3 separate regions of the Homo sapiens genome follow, and all the other regions are linked to region 2. Evidence: promoter capture Hi-C in 16 types of primary human blood cells and fetal thymus (Javierre and others, 2016). All regions are on one chromosome and are shown on one strand. Each heading gives the region's core, a stretch centred on a gene start or on the middle of the fragment in contact. The rest is flanking DNA. Distances are from core to core; before and after follow the strand shown. Region 1 has its middle 26 kb from the start of LINC02790. Region 2 holds the start of PTBP2 (polypyrimidine tract binding protein 2). Region 3 has its middle 43 kb from the start of LINC02790.

Region 1 (3,349 bases), core at 432-2,931, 760 kb after region 2:
ATCCTTTATATTTGTATTTCCAACTAACTCAGACACTACCTACATATCCTTCCTTTGGATTTTAGAGATAAACATTTTACAATGGTTTAGGAAACAAATAGCGGATTCTGGGCGTACATCTACCCCTAATTAGGTGTGACTTTGGGAACGTCATCAGCTCATGGAACTTTAGTTTCTCTTCCCCTTCCAATGGGGGAGGGTAATATAAAATTGCTAAACTCTAGAAAATTCATGATGTTTGTGTCACTCACCACTAATTTGGTTATATGCCATTTTGAATTATTCAGTAGTCTTCTCAGCTAGATTTTAAGTGCCCTAGATATATTTCCCGTTACCTAGCACAGTGCTGGGTGATAACTAGCTGTTTTAAAAACACTTCTTGATGGACTGAATATTTACTGGAAAAATATTGGAGGCCAAGAAAAGACATATTCACTTAGTTGAATATTCTCTGGTCTAGAATTGTCCTCTATCAGCAGTGTGAAACAAGATGGTTGTAGAGTTTGTTTGAAAAGGAAGTATTTTCATTATCAATTTAAAATACACTGTCTTCCAATTGTTATGTTACATTATCTATAACTAGAGGATTTGTTCATGCATAATTTTTTTACACATCTGAAAGTAAAATGGACTAATGTGTGACCTACCTACAGAAATAGCAGAAGTCATTTTAGACAGCCTGGGAAAGATAGCAAATTTTCAAAACCACATTCCTATTTAGCTGGCATATATATAACATTGTGTCTTCTTATCAGTTCCAGCAATACTATGTATATTAGGAGAAAAAAAAAGCATTCTCCACAATTAGCTTCCTTTTTGGCCCTGATGAAAGAATTTCATAATCTAATTTTTTGTTTTTTCATAAAGTTCTTCATTGAGAATGAGCTGAGATGTTGAAATTGTGATTTAGATACAGAAGCCATCAGCTAGATAGTGTATTAATGTACTTCAAGTGTTGCAGCAACAGTTAAAAGGAAAAAAAGTTAAAAGTACTAAGAAGGTTAGTAGGGTTATCGGAAACATATGGTGTTTTTTAAAGTTTTCCTGAATGCAGCAGGGGTTCTGTGGATTCATTAAGGAAAGAAAAATGATGAAGGCAAAATGTGAGTGAGAAGTAAGCTTTTATCTGATGAGTCTTTTCCGTCTCATCCCATCTGTCTCAACCTAATCACACTTAGATGTGTTGAAGCTATCTACAGAGGTTAAATGTATTTTTGAAGTTCAATAAATAAGGTTATGTCTCTTGAAAAAAAAGTAGCAGACTGTATTATACTAAATAGTAAAATAGCAGATCCACCTAGTAATGCAAATTTTTTTGTAAGATAATACATATGAGAAGTATGGATTGTGAATAGAATTGTTTGGTTGCGAAACCAGACATTTCTTTAAAAATCAAAGAGAGGAGCACCTCTTTCAGGCCCCGCACCATCTGGGAAGTGAGGAGCGCTTCTGCCCTGCCGCCATGCAACCCTACAGGTGTGAAGTGGCAGCCTTGTGTGTGATCTTTCTGCCCTCCCCAAGTTTGCATTTTCGACAGTAAAGTTTACTTTTAAATTAAAAGATTTAAATTGGGGAAGATAAAAAAAATCATAAGACAATATACATGATAAAGGCATTAGTAGTGTCATATATAGTAATGCACTATATAATGACACTTCTGTCAATGATGGACTGCATAAGACTATAATACAATATTTCATTGTACCTTTTCTGTGTTTAGATATTTTTAGATACACAAATACTTACTATGTGTCCCAGTTGACTATGTGTTCAGCGCAGCAATATGTTGTACCAGTTTGTATCCTTGGAGAAATAGACTACACCATATATCCTAGGTGCATATTAAGCTATATCATCTAGGTTTGTGTAAGTATACTTTATGATGTTGATCCAATGACAGAATTGCCTAATGACACATTTCTCAGAAGGTATCCTCATTGTTAAGCAATGTATGACTGTATTATAAAGTCATAGGTTCACATTAAGTGTTTTCAAGGAGCAAGAGACAATTTTCATTTGGACAAAGTAGATGAATGTTCTTATTTGTAGTCTATTTTCTCTTCTTAGAAGAAAACATGCTTTCTTCTGCATAATGTCATAAAGATCCAAGTACTTTTCAATTTTTAAATTCTTTTGCTCCAATCTGCATATCCTTCTCCAACACCTCCCTATTCCTCTTTTCTGCTCTCAAAATGCACGGATATCTATAACCTTGGGAAAGCCTGTACTTACCTGAAGCTTTCTTAGGTATGTGTTTCTTGTTAACAAATTTTGAGTGAGTTATCCACCTTTACACAAGTCATGCCTAGCCTGATGTCTTCTTCCTCCACTCTATTGAAGTTGCATTCACACCTTTCATGGGCACAGATTTTGTTTCCCTAACTTGAATATAAGCTTTTGTAGGAAGAACCTGCAATAAGCAATTTCGGGGGTTTGGCTACCATTGTACACTGACCTTAAAAAAAATAAATGAATTGTTAAATTTATGAGTGGACTTTAAATGCTCAATTGAATCCACACAACTATTAAGATAAGCAAACCACCCTTCATTACAATGAAATACTCTCTGATGTGAGAAATCTTCCCCTAAAAGCTAACCCATCTGCCCTTTCTCAGGTGGCAAAAGACACACTATTTTTTTCCTTGTGTATTTGCTGCCAATTTCTAGGAATCCCAGTGAGGAAAACACAGAGTAATAAGTGTGAGTAGTGAGTTTCTAATATCATGGTAAAAGAGTCTGGCACCAGGAGAGAAGCTCAGATTTCCTGGGCATCTATTAAACAGTATGTATTAAGTCCCTAATACATCTACTCTAGTACTAAGAAGGCTATCAAAGACTATCTAGATACAGCCCTTAATCTAAAGAAGCTCACATGTTCATAATACAAAAAAGAATATGGAAAGAAATTTTTAACTTATTTTAAAAAGGAATGTCCAAAACCTCTTCTAAAAATGACAGTACTGTTAGCTGCCATACCTAATTTATAGCATTGCTCTGAAGATCACATGGACATGAAAATAATTAAAAACATAAAATTGCAAACTCTACACACTTGCAAAAAATCTGTCATCATGTCATGTCACATTTTTATAAGATTTATGAATACCTATAATTAGATAAAGTTTTTTATAAATGCCACTATAGATATTAAAAAACAAGGACTTGAAGGCATACAATTTCAAGTAATAATCCAACTCGTAAAAGTCAAGGGTAAAGAAAGAATCCTGAAAGCAGCTGGAGAAAAGAAACAAATAACTTAACAATGGAGCTCCAATACAGCTGGTGGCAGACTTTTTAGTGGAAGCCTTACAGGCCAGGAGAAAGTGGTATGATATATTTAAAGTGCTG
Region 2 (3,383 bases), core at 765-3,264:
GTTATTCTTACAGACTGACAGTTCTAGAAAAACTTATGGTGATTACAAACTGTTTATATGGTCCAACTTTACAAATGAAAGGAAACATTTTACACTTGGGTTTTGTTAGCTACGTTATAGTTTTCAAAAGCAAAAGCTAAAATTTTCCAGTAATTATGATAATAGATCCAACAATCCCAGTTTCAAACATAGTATTTTCCTACCTTCACGCCAACTGCAACCTCAGTGACGATTCTGCAAAGAAAAAATAAGTAGTTTCAACCTCCTGTTATTCTTCTAATCACTCACTCTTTGGCTCTAAAACTTTTTAGGATAGTCCATCATTCATAAATCTTCCAGCCACTCACACACAGATGGGGATAAAAAATACCACAGATGATCCGTGACTTACCTGTACTGTTACCAACCTGGTTTTCTAAAAGTAACTTTCAAATGTGAGACAACTTGTGGTATTTTTTAACAACACATTCAATAGCCAAAAAGAACAAAACCCAAAACACTATGCCATTTCTACAATGCCAGTATACTGAGATTAATAATTTAACGCTTAAACTCTTTAGTAGTCTCCACAGGAACCAGGAATCAGGAAACATGAATTCTAGTGCAAGTTTTGACATCAATTTCCGTGTTGATCTGGGGGGAATACTGAACTTCTCTGGATTTGTTTCATCTGGAAAATAATCTTTAGGTAACATCTAGGATGATTTGAATTCTGTGAGACTGTGTTAACTTTTATAAAATCTTGTTTTTAGTACCTTTTAAAACACACCAAACTCTAGGCGCTTAACCAAATTGTTGATTCTTCAAATACTCACTGATTTTAATAAATGTACTTGTTAAATGATACTATGTTTACACTCCCAAAAGAGCTGCATACTGCTGTATTTTTGACCTTAAGCGTGCCCCCTTTCTAACATTGAGTTAAATTACTGAGTCTTTTCAGGTGTGAAGCATATGAGCGAGACATCGGTCCCTACCATTTCACAGTCTTGCCTCTCACCTCACTCAGCATTCCGTCTTGACTCAGGTTCGCAAAGATGCAGCATGGTTCTGGGTTTTTATAGTCGTTTTTCCAGAAACTGACCAAAGTAGCTAAAGAGATAGCCCTTTGTTGACTATCTGCTCTTGTTTCTGCCATTGCTGTTGGCCTTTGCCCATGTGACTGATGTCGGCTTCAAACACTTCGTTTTTTAGATGATTTAATTTCTGGGCCCTTTTGCCAAGCCTTGAATGTTTTCAGTCCCCACAAAAAGGCATTTTTTCCTCCCTCCCGCCCCCACTACCAGACTCAAATGAAAACAAAGGAGTATGACATCTGCCCTCCCCCTTCCTCCCGCCGCCGCACGCCCTCCCCCCTTCCCCAGCGGCTCCCACTAGGCTTTCCCCGGAGCTCCCGCCACCGGCATCTCTCCCGACCACGGAGGGCCGGGCGAGGCCGGAGAGGTTGCTCATGGCTGGGGTCCACATGGGGTGCCTCTCTCCTCTTCCCCTAGAGGCTCCCCCAATCCAAAGGCCTGTCTCTGCCCATCCCACTCGCTCTCACAGGCACCGCTAACCCAAGGGTCGGGTCCCAAGGTACGGATCGAAATGGCTCCTAGAGGGGGCAGGGACAGACCGGGGAGACGTTATGGGGTTCCCACCCCATCCCCCGCCGCCAAGCCGGTGCCCGCTCCCACTCCGGGATCCTCACCCCCGCCATCGCCCCTATGCCTCCCCAGCCTCCAAGCCCGCTTTCTTCTCATTTTCTCGACCAAAGCCCGCCGGGGGAAGCAAAGGGAGGGGTGTGTGCGATGGGGCGGGGGTTGGGTAACGGCAGCCCAGCCCTGGGAGGGGCCGCGGGAGGGTTTCTCCCCGGCCCGGGACCGGGCCGAAGGACGGTCCAACTCCTCTCTCACACACACCTTCTCGCCGGCCCGATTACATACCCGTCCATTGCCGAACCGGACAAAGCTTCGCTCACAAGAACCGAGCCACGCAGCCAGCGAGCCACACAAGCGGCGAGAAAATGGCGGCTGGGGCCCGACGGAAATTGCCGAAGGTGCCGAGGCGCACGGGCCACCGCGCGGCAGCGGCGGCGGCGGAAAGAGCCGAGCGCGCCGGCGCCCGGCAGCGGGAGGCGAGCGGCAGGGCGCTGGGACTAGGGGGAGTGGGCGCCGCAGCCGACGCCTCCTCCGCGCCTTCGCGCGCCTTTCTCCCTCCGCCCTCCGCCTGCCGTCCTCTGGAACCTGGCGTTCTGCTGCAGACCGCGGCGACCTGGTTTCCCCTCCTTGTGGGGGCGTGGGTGGGACACCTCCCAACAGCTCTCCACACTCTCTCTGCCCTGACTGCAGGACGCCCCCAGGCAGCCTCCACTTTTCACTCCAAGCCAAGTACCAGCTTGGCTACCGTCAACCTATGCGGGCCAAGGAAAAAACATTGGATAGCTTTTCTCCTAAGCCATCTTTTATTTGCAGACCGGCTCCAGCCTCTAAAACAAAAATCTTTACCCCACTGAACGAGACCACTTGGTAACAACAGTACTTTCTCAAGCAAGTAGAACTCCTCAGACTGAAATACAGGCTTTTGCTTCAAGACCTGTAGTACCAAGCCAAGTGGAGGAAAATGTGATTCTCACTTCAGTTGGTGATTAGTGTGCGCCTGTAGAAAATATTCACAATACGCTAGGTGGAAATAGACACAAATGGAGCCATGTGTTAAAATGCTACAATAGTTGGAGTTTAACATTTGGAGGCATGAAAGGGAAAGTGGAGATGGGAGTGGGAACAACTGAGTCTTCAGATTGGTTAGAGAAAGTAGAAGCATTAAAATGGGCTATGCAAATTGACTCCCTTTGCTATATCTTACGGTCTCAATTTTTACTTGATACTATAGTGGACATTTTACTTCAACGTGTTTTTATCAGAGGCTCAACAAAATTGGGAAAGGCACCCGCTTGAAAATTTGCTCAGTGAGTAGCGACTTTGCCAGTACCCATCCTTCTCCTGCACCCTTCACCTCCACCCCCAACACACACAAGGACAAATGCACTTCTAATTCTGAAAAATGACAAATACTCCCTGTGTCCCTCCAGTTACTCTCAATACTCACTCTGGGTTTTTCTGTGTCTCCTTCAGGCAAAGCTCTTATCCTTTGCTAATTGGAATTTCATATACTAAATGATATTGTGTATAATTTTTAGAATTTTTTTTTTTGAGACCCAGTCTCGCTCTTGTTGCCCAGGCTGAAGTGCAATGGCGCAATCTCGGCTCACTGCAACCTCGGCCTCCCTGGTTCAAGCGATTCTCCTGCCTCAGCCTCCCGAGTAGCTGGGATTACAGGCACGCGCCACCACGCCCAGCTAACTTTGTATTTTTAGTAGAGACAGGGTTTCTCCATGTTGGTCA
Region 3 (3,172 bases), core at 382-2,881, 770 kb after region 2:
GCAAATAAGAAAGCAAAGAAGATCTGAGGCAAAGAAAAACACCATGGTAAAGTAACAAAAATATAAAATGCCTTGGCGTTTTCGGGTAACTATAAATAGTTCAATATCACTAATGCAGGTAAGGAAGGTGGTAACCAAAAATGAAATTGAAGAAGCAGCCAAAGCCCAGAGGATGGAGGAACTGCCCAGTCATGGGAAAATACTTGGATTTCATTCAATATCTGTTTTAATAGCTTTCCACTTCTTTGATTATATATTTCTAGCAGTACATAAATTTTCTTATTAATCCCCATTATAGGTACATAAATTTCCTAAATTATTTACACACATTAATGACATTTACAGATATCTTGACACACTAACATTTACAATTTCATCATTAGCAATATTTCTAAGCTGATTCTACTCAAGCATGTGGCTATCACCAAGACATAAACAATATCAATTATTTCATTAAGTCAAAAAGAATTGTTTGAAAACAGAAAATAATAACTGGAACTTAAGGTTAAAAACAGAAGACCCAGCAGCTTGAAAACTCTCCTGGAAACAATCTACTCATTTTTGAAAGTTTATTAAGCCATGATATCAGTTGATTTTCATTTCTCTTAGAAACCTACATAAGCAAGCAATCTTCCCTGGCAAAGGGAGAAGAAGATCTGAATTCTCTATAAATAGATATAGTACTTGCAAAGCTTGGAGTTTATACAATTTATTCCCTTATAAAAAAGAATAAATAATTTTGCAAATTTTACAATTTATAATTATGTAACATATTCCTAGGACTATCCCCCAATCTTTGGAAGTGATTCATGTGTGTGAGGTAGTCTGCAAATTATGTTTTAGTAGATGACAATTAAATCTCTCTCTGCTGCTGCCATTATCCTGGGCTCTCCGGAGTTCAACCTGAGTATTCCATCTTAATTTGCAAGAAAGCTGATTTTCATGAAAATCTACATCAACTTTATGGTGAAAAATTTCTTGTCACCAAAAGATTGAAATAAAACACTTGAAAACTAATGGACCAACAGAAAAAATGGGCTATTTGCTTTTGGAATTATTTTACTAGCATTAGTCAAAAATTAAAAATGAAAACATTAAAGATGACATGAGCAACAAGTATAACAATGTCAATGCAAATTTCATAAAGATACTGCAGCATTGTACAATATAGTTGGGATCTAAAGTCATGTTAGAAAACTGCTTAGGAGCCATTTCTCTTCCAACTATTTACAAGTAATAAATGTGTTTGGTAAATAAAATATATTTGTAAATTTTCAAATAAATATTTGCTGCCAACACTATGCACTGACTTCACACAATATGTTCAATAGCATTTGAGGTGAAGTTCTACAGCAGGAGACCTTGGCAACTCTTTCACTCCATCTAAAATAATCCTGTAGTGAAGAATCTCCCACTTTAGAAAGGAATGTATGACATATTATAAATTGCTATTTAAAAACAAAGCATGCAGTAGTTGAGAACATGTACACCAAGCTCTACATGATACACTTCTTTATTTTTTTTGCTCCACACTTCTAGTAGACAAATGATGCTACATGGAAACATGTACATTACTGTGCATTATGCTTCAATAAATAGTAATTTTCATGTATATGTTATTATAGTTTTTCTGCAAAAATCACTAAAAATTGGTATTTACCAAATGTACATGATACCAACTATTATTTTTTTCCTATCTGTTATGTGGTATCAGGTACCAAGAAGCATAACCAAACAGATGCACAGACTTACTATGTGAAGGATTGTTTTTACACTGAATCCAGACATGCCATCTAGTGAATTATTGTAAAATTATTCACCTTCTGGGTTGAAAGCTGGGGACAAAGGATAGGGATTAATATTACACCTAAGTGTAAATTATCCTAGAGTAAATTGGAAGCAATTTATTTATACTATAATTACTAATGTGCACTCTTAAGCACTAACAAGATTCTAGAACTTTACTGGACAACTCTCTTCCTCTGGGACTTATTGAAGTAAAAGACAATGAGATATTTCAGGGCTCTATTTCCACCCAAGGGCCAATAATGTACACCATGAAACAAAAACTAATGTTGAGTGAAGGCTGATGTACATTGAGGACCTCCTGCTTATTCATTAATGAGGATGATGTCACCAATCAATAGAAAACCTGTTTTATGAAAAACTGGTTTTCTATTGATCAAAGAGGTTACAGCCTTTTGGTGCTATTTTGACTTAACAATGTATTCCAATGGCTTTATTTCTACATAGAGAAAAAGTCTTCATAAATGTTAGTTTCATCCCCACAAATCTTTAAAGAGCCCCCATTCCACCTTACAACATTGTCCATAAGTTTTCTTGTTTCCTTTCTTTTGTTCCTTTCATTATCATATTTATTTTTTTTATTTTTCTCCTTTTCAGAAAATCATACTTAATCTCAACACTCCTTCTCTTAGAACTACAGATTTTCTCTTTCCATGACACTTTTCATATAAATTGCTTCCATGTTTATTTGGTGCCCATATTTTAATTGATTTCTATTCCCACCACCATTCTGTAGTTAGATTTAAGCATCTAAAGAAGCTTTCTTATCTTCCACCAAGTCAGCTTTTCTAAGGATGTGTTAATGACTGACAGGAAGGACTGCTGGAGGTGATACTGACTCAGCAGACTCACCATAGATGAATAAACTATGGAAATGTCAGTTGTGGAAGGAAGGGGAAACTGGAAGAATGGTCTCAACTAAATAACAACAAAATAAATAAATAACTTATTGCAGCTAAGTTTCCTAGTTTCTAGACAGCCATAGCCACAAGTTTCAATGTAAAAAAATTCTATTTTAAATCATTCATTTAAAATACTACTCTATCTTACATTACAAGTAATTAGCCCAACCTCATATGCCACTCTAAATGTATGTTTATATTTTTAAAATTTTTTCCATGTGCAATGTGTATTAATCTTATTTTGGCTTCATGATTATCTTACATACATTTGAGCAGAACTTTCAGAAGAAAAATACAACATTGATTTAACTCCTTTGTTTATTCTGGGATTAAAATAAAATGTCATGAACTTCACTTTACTCATAACGAATTGAATATGGCAGAACATTTCTAGGGAATAAGTGACAAGATTTTCCTATTTACCTATGTTCCTAGACCAGCCATAAGGTTATTTGGAAGGCTAC

The links. Contacts are between HindIII fragments. The CHiCAGO score rates a contact against its expected background, and 5 or more counts as called.
Region 1: a fragment that was not itself captured here is called in contact with the fragment with the promoter of PTBP2 in region 2 in 1 of 17 cell types (megakaryocytes); the score reaches 7.1 in megakaryocytes.
Region 3: a contact is called between a fragment that was not itself captured here and the fragment with the promoter of PTBP2 in region 2, in 1 of 17 cell types (megakaryocytes). The highest score is 8.1, in megakaryocytes.

The regions. Positions count from the first base shown.
Region 1 is chr1:95,964,437-95,967,785 of GRCh38, reverse strand. No RefSeq gene overlaps it. Among named protein-coding and RNA genes, the nearest start is that of LINC02790, 26 kb to the left of the region's middle. The HindIII fragment of the contact is 1,119 bases long and covers 1,122-2,240 here.
Region 2 is chr1:96,720,415-96,723,797 of GRCh38, reverse strand. PTBP2 (polypyrimidine tract binding protein 2) reads right to left here and starts at 2,014. Exons shown (of 14, transcript NM_021190.4): 1 at 1,926-2,014; 2 at 204-234. The coding sequence starts at 1,933. RefSeq lists silencers at 1,539-1,818, 2,049-2,248. The HindIII fragment of the contact is 2,234 bases long and covers 1,953-3,383 here.
Region 3 is chr1:95,947,680-95,950,851 of GRCh38, reverse strand. No RefSeq gene overlaps it. Among named protein-coding and RNA genes, the nearest start is that of LINC02790, 43 kb to the left of the region's middle. The HindIII fragment of the contact is 1,873 bases long and covers 695-2,567 here.